Regions from separate parts of the Homo sapiens genome. Here region 2 is linked to region 1. Evidence: promoter capture Hi-C in human tissues and cell types (Jung and others, 2019). All regions are on one chromosome and are shown on one strand. The core of a region is centred on a gene start or on the middle of the fragment in contact, and the rest is flanking DNA. Distances in the headings are between cores, read along the strand shown.

Region 1 (3,197 bases), core at 54-2,553:
ATGTGCATTGGCAAAAACAAAATAAGAAACCAATTTGCAGGCATGAGTGGACCAGTACCCAGGACTCTCTTCCAGTAGCCTACAGTAGATAGAGGGCTCTGACTTATCGGAGAAGTCCTGCTTGGCTGGAGAAGGGCATCAAGCTGTTTATCAGCGCCTCATGCCCTTAACAGTTAAGACCATCCAACTAACCTGGCTGTTACTCCATGAATCTCGTGCAGCTTTCTGAAAATCATGGGGTCTCTGCGGACTTTCCTGCAGAAAGAGAGCCCACTGATTCCACTACCTAGATAAAGGCGTGGTGGTGGGCCCCTGTAATCCCAACTACTCGGTGTAAGAATTAAAGAAAGAGGAAAGAAACACGAAAAGTGGCTTGGTGGTCATAAGAGGTTTATTTTAGAGAAAACCTGAGAGGGGCGTCTGGCCAAGTTAGGTCAGAGGCACACTCTCTTACAGACTAAGTAAGTTTTTAAGGATTCGGAGTGGGAGAGTTTATCAGAGGCTTGGACTGCTTCTGTGTCTCTTTGTTGTGCTTATCTCGGAGGGAGAGTTGTGTGTCTGTTCCCATACATCTTTCTGCAGCTGCAGACATACCCCCTGAGTCTAATTTTTGTATTTTTAGTAGAGAGGGGTTTCACCATGTTGGCCAGGCTGGTCTCGAACTCCTGACCTCAGGTGATCCTCCCGCCTCGGTCTCCCAAATTTCTGGGATTACAGGCGTGAGCCATCTGCGCCCTGCCTAAACTGTTCGGGTTCTAACATTCCAGCATCCTCCTGCGGAACGCAGCCAGGCCTTACTCAGGCCTTCCAATCAGGACCCTTACAGTTCCTGGGGCTGGGATTGCGAGTCTCTCTGGGGCCACGCTTTCTAAGCGTATCACTTCCAGGATACGTGCCTCCAACAGAAGGAATGAAGGCTAGGAAACAAAAACGTGGATGCGGGTGAGGAGCTGTCAGTGTTACCGCCACGACAACGTGGACCCTGCGAAACTCGGAGGTGCCACTCAAGAGCCGAAAGCCTGCCCACTCGGGGTGGGGCGGCAACCCGGAGAGCCAATCAGGAATAAGGAGTCCGGTTCATGAAAAGGTAGCCGGATTCTGACTGGGATACTCACTGTGAGAAGGCTGGGCGGAGTTGCAGAAAGTCAACAGAAGCCGAATCTCTGAATTTCTGTTCGCAGCCTCCTAGGCGGGGCCGGGAAAAAAATCCAGTAGTCTGCGCTGACTGGGCGGCGAGGGACCGGGAGGAGCCAATCAGAAGTCAGGACTCGCGGGGCTTGGAGGAGGGGCGCGGGCGCTGCGGCCCCTGCTCTACCTCCTAGCGCCGGTGCGCGGCCGAGGCCGCACTACCTGTCTGCGGGAAAGCGGGATCCACCCCAGGACGTCGGGTCGCTGCCGGTGAGCCAAGGAGGGGGAAGCAGAGACGAGCCCTGCGTCCCCGCTGCGGGAGTCGGGGTCGCCCCCGAGGGCAGGGAGGCTCGCTGCAAGTGTGGAGCCGGGAGTCCTATGCCTCAGGCTCCTCCAGCCCGCGCTATCCTCAGCTCGCTGCGTGCGTGATGGGCAAGTCACCCTTCTTCCCGGACCTCACCTGTAACCTAGGAGGGCTGAGCTGGGCCCCCAGAATGAAAGCGTGGCACCCGAGAAGCTGTCGAGGCCAGCCCTCCCGGGTCTGTGTGGGGTCGCTGGCCGAGGGCTGTGCCGGCGCCTGGCCGGTGTCTACTGGGAGCAGTCTCTGAGCTCCGCTGAACCTCACTTACTCATGCGCCCTCCTCCTCTCTTTTCCTGCCTCTTGGTTCAGCAGCCCCTCTGCAGCCCGCTCACCCACCACTTTTTCCCCTTCACCCACCAGGAAGACCCTTAAAAGCACCTAGTAATGCACTGTTGTCTTTGAAAAACTGCAGATGCTAGATTCCCCACCTTTCTGTTTCATGATCCCCTTGGGGTTGAACTGCCCCGTGAGTCTGTGGAATGAAGGTCACCCTTGGTTCACCATTTAATATTAAATAAGGGACTAGCCTAGGGGCTGAGAATACAGAGATTGACTGGGTATAATCCCTTGGAAGGACGCAGCAAAAGGGAATGTAGGAGAAGAAAGGTAGAGTTGGAAGACATGCTAAGGTAGAATTTACTAGACTTTGTTACACGTTGGGAGTGAGGGACAGGAAAGAATCAAGAATGACTCCTGTTTCTTGTCTGGTATACTTTGCACAAAGTACAGAGCTTAAGTTCCAGCCCCCTCCCGGCTGCAGGACAAAGGTGGTGAGATTCTGACGCAGATCTTGGAGTTGGAAATCACACTTGCTTCCTGCGGGCTTTTTCAGGAGCTAAATACTGTTGGCCGGATATATAGACCAACAGCCTATAGTACCTGAATTCCTCCTCTCCCTTTCAATGAAGTAGGAAAAAAAGTTAATAATTTTTAAAAATGTGTGAGTGGGCAACATAGCGAGACACTGTCTCTAAAAAAATAAAAATAATAAAATCAAAAAGACAGCCATGATGGCTTGCACCTGTAATCCCAGCACTTTGGGAGACCAAGGTAGGAGGATTGCTTGAGCCCAGAAGTTCGAGACCAGCCTGGGCAACATAGTGGGACCCTCTCTCTCCAAAAAAAAAAAAAAAAAAAAGGCCAGGCATGGTGGCACCTGCCTGCAGTCCCAGCTATTTGGGAAGCTCAGGTGGGAGGATCCCTTGAGCCCAGGAGTTGGAAGCTGCAGTAAGCAGTGATTGTGCCACTGTACTCCAGACTGGGTGACAGAGACCTTGTCTCAAAAACAAAAAAAAAAAAATTCCCCTCCATACAAAGGAGACATTTGGTTAAGACAGACATGTCTGATAAACATATTTTTTTCTTTGTTTTTATTTACTCTCAAGAGTTGACTTGATCTGTGCCATTAGTTCTATGATATGGAGCGCTTATATAAAGAAAAAAGGCGAACTTAAAGAACTTTAGTGGCATGGAATACTAGAGCTAGAGGAGACTTTTAGTAATAATCTAATCCAACTCTGTTTTAGAGGAGACATGACTAGTCCAGAGTTTCAGAGGTTAGGTAGCAGAACTGGGACTAAAATATGTCCTATTTCTCCCAGCACAGCCTTTTATTACATCAGTCTATTTGGATGGCCAGAGCTAACAACCTTGCTTTACATGGCTATGGAAAACAGCGCTCTCCTAAGAGGAGCTTAACAAGTCAAAG
Region 2 (3,211 bases), core at 175-2,674, 280 kb after region 1:
AGGGTGGGGAGAAGTGGGGCAGGTGTACAATGCTCTGCTGTTGCCATCTTCTATTATTTTTTTTTTTTGAGACGGAGTTTTTTTGCTCTTGTTGCCCAGGTTGGAGTGCAGTGGCGCGATCTTGGCTCACTGCAACCTCCGCCTCCTGGGTTCAAGTGATTCTCCTGCCTCAGCTTCCCAAGTAGCTGGGATTACAGGCACACGCCACCACACCTGGCTAATTTTTGTATTTTCAGTAGGGAAGGGGTTTCACCATGTTGGCCAGGCTTGTCTCGAACTCCTGACCTCAAGTGATCCACCTGCCTCAGCCTCCCAAAGTGCTGGGATTACAGGCATAAGCCACCACAAGCAAGGTCCGGACAGTAAGCAAGGTCTGATGGGACAAAAGAGCCTGTATCTGAGCAGAGGAGACACAGGCAATGTCTGTGTCCACCATTCCTTGCTGCCCCATTTGCATCTCACATTTACTTTGGTCCATGAGCTCAGAACCTATAATGTGTAGGAGTTCGGTGAGACTCAAAGCAATTAGATGTTAAACATGTTATGTCAACAACTGAGTAAGGGACAGGAGAGCACTGACAGGCCCAGAGGCTGCATTTTCCATTTGAACCAGACTTACTTCAAATGCAGAAAGAAGACAATGACCAAGGTGCCCCATCATCCTTTCTTACCCATGTTAACACCCCTGTATTAGCCAATCGCTATGCAGAAAATGAAGACACGGGAGGAAAGAGAACCCCACAGTTCCTTCTCCTTTCAGTCTTTCCTTCCTCATTGGTAAGAAAAGGTAGACAGCCTGGGTAGAATGTGCACATACCAAGGAGTGAGATGAAACCAGTTGAGATAATTTTATTCTGTTTCATCCTCTGGTAAATATGAGCTACAAAAGACGAATTGTATAATTTCAGTGACTCTGCATACAAGTTAATACAGCTCACCTTTGAACAACATGGATTTGAACTGCACAGGTCCACTTACATGTGGATTTTTTTTCACCTCTGCCACCCCTGAGATCATCCCCTGCCTTTCTCCTCCCTCCTCAGCCTACTCAACATGAAGAGGATGAGGATCCTCTTCCACTTAATGAATATCCACTTCCACTTAATGAGCAGTGAACATATTTTCTCTTCCTTATGATTTCAATAACATTTGCTTTTCTCTAGCTTACTTTATTGTAAGAATACAGTATATATTATATACAACATACAAAATATGTGTTAACTGTTTATGTTATCAGTAAGGCTTCCAGTCAACAGTAGGCTATTAGCAGTTTTGGGCGAGTCGAAAGTTATACATGGATTTTCAATTGCACAGGAGTCAGCACCCCTGACCCCCGAGTTCTTCTGGGGTCAGCTATACTCATATTTGCATTTAAACCTGGCACTGCACAAAATAAAGATGAATGGTACAATTTATGCCAATAATTTAAATTTAAAACTTTTTCTTACTTAGAACATTAAATAGCAAATTTGAAAAAAAAAAAACAAAAAAACACCAGAACAGGCCGGGCATGGTGCACCGCTCATGCCTGTAATTCCAGCACTCTGGGAGGCAAAGGTGGGCGGATCACCTGAGGTCACGAGTTCAAGACCAGTCTGGCCAACATGGCAAAAGCTCGTCTCTACTAAAAATACAAAAAGTAGCCAGCCGTTGTGGCACACGCCTGTAGTCCCAGCTACTCAGGAGGCTGAGGCAGGAGAATCGCTTGAACCCGGGAGGCGGAGGTTGCAGTGAGTCAAGATCGTGCCATTGCATTCCAGCCTGGGCAACACAGCGAGACTCTGTCTCAAAAAACAAACAAACAACAACAACAAAAACACCAGAACAAATGAAGAGAACATGAAAAAAAAGGAGAAAGCTTCGTATTTCAGTTCCCTTAATGGCCCCTTCTTCCTGTCTCTGACCGGACCTTGTGGCTGTCCCTCACCTCCTCCAGCTTCATTTCCTACGCAGCCTTTGCTCCCATAGCCTTGCTCAGGGTTCCGCCGTTCCCTGAAAGCTCTCCCGCTCCTTTACCGCTACAGGCCTTTCTCAGGCTTCCTCTACCAAGAACACCATTCTTCTCCCTTCTGCACATGTGTGAATTCTTGCTCCTCCTCCAAGTTCAAGCCTCCTTCCAGGAGGACATTTGGGATGCCGGCACCACATCTTTGCCAGGTGCCCCTCTGTTTCCCTCTACCCTGGCCCTGCAGTGTGACTGTCTGCATCACCCCCATTAGACCTTGACCTCATGTATCAAGATCTTGCCCCTCTGCTTCCCTCTACCCCGGCCCTGCAGTATGACTGTCTGCATCTCTCCCAGTAGACCTTGACCTCATGGATCAAGGTATAGGGGCCCAGGGCTGGGGGACTTACTCAAGGAACCTGGTGATATACTGGCGGCTGCAGCGGGACCAGGTGAGGGGAGCGGCGTCGTACAGGAGCTGTGGAGACATGATGAAAGGTCGTTTCCCAACGGGCTCACAGTCATTGCCGCTTCCGTCATGCTGAATGCCAAAACTGTGTGAGAGCACAGGCCCCAGGGGCGGGTGAGCCGGCGGGAGGCTGCCAGCCTGCCCTCCCCTGGACACCCACAAGGTGCGCAGTCCTAGTTCCCAGGGCTGGTTCTGCCACCCAATGGCTGCACCCAATGGCTGCAGAAAGTCACATTCCCCTCTCTGAGCCTCAGTTTCCTGAATGTAAAATGAGGGTATGACAGCTAGTATCCCAAGGGCTCCTGTTCCAGCCTGAAATGAGGGCCAGGGACCCAGAGCAGCCCTGCCCCTGCCTGGGGGCCAGCCAGCAATGGCAAATCAGGTGGCACAGATGTGGGCCCGTGATGGCCCCTGCAAGCTCACTGGCCTCAAGAACAGTCTGACAGCGGTTCCCACTCACAGGTCCTTGTCCCAAGGCTGTGCACTTGAGTTAAGGGATCTGAGCTGCTGTATCACAGAAAGGTCTCCAGAGACCATCCTTGGGAAGGATACAAGAAAAATTATTTCCTGAGCATCTACTATGTGCCAGGGGCCATGCTAAGCACTTTCAGAAACACAATCTCACTCAGTTCTCATTATTACCCTCAGGAAGGCTCAGAGAGTCTAAGGAACTAGCTAGGGTAACACAGCCAGGAAATTGCAGTACTGTGGCAGGCTGTTCTTTCTGCAGCCATAAGCAGCTTCAAGGTCCTGCAGGCACGGCCATCGCCTACGAAACCCGGACGTCTGAATGGATG

The links. The method cuts DNA at HindIII sites, captures the fragments that hold promoters and counts their contacts. A contact is called where the count stands out against the background at its distance.
Region 2: a contact is called between a fragment that was not itself captured here and the fragment with the promoter of HYKK in region 1, in 4 of the 25 tissues and cell types used here (lymphoblastoid cells, mesenchymal stem cells, mesendoderm cells and 1 more).

What each region holds. Positions count from the first base shown.
Region 1 is chr15:78,506,274-78,509,470 of GRCh38, forward strand. It overlaps HYKK (hydroxylysine kinase), which reads left to right and starts at 1,304. Exons shown (of 5, transcript NM_001013619.4): 1 at 1,304-1,398. The HindIII fragment of the contact is 18,918 bases long and covers 1-3,197 here.
Region 2 is chr15:78,785,876-78,789,086 of GRCh38, forward strand. It overlaps ADAMTS7 (ADAM metallopeptidase with thrombospondin type 1 motif 7), which reads right to left. Exons shown (of 24, transcript NM_014272.5): 8 at 2,356-2,499. Among named protein-coding and RNA genes, the nearest start is that of ADAMTS7, 24 kb to the right of the region's middle. The HindIII fragment of the contact is 7,649 bases long and covers 1-3,211 here.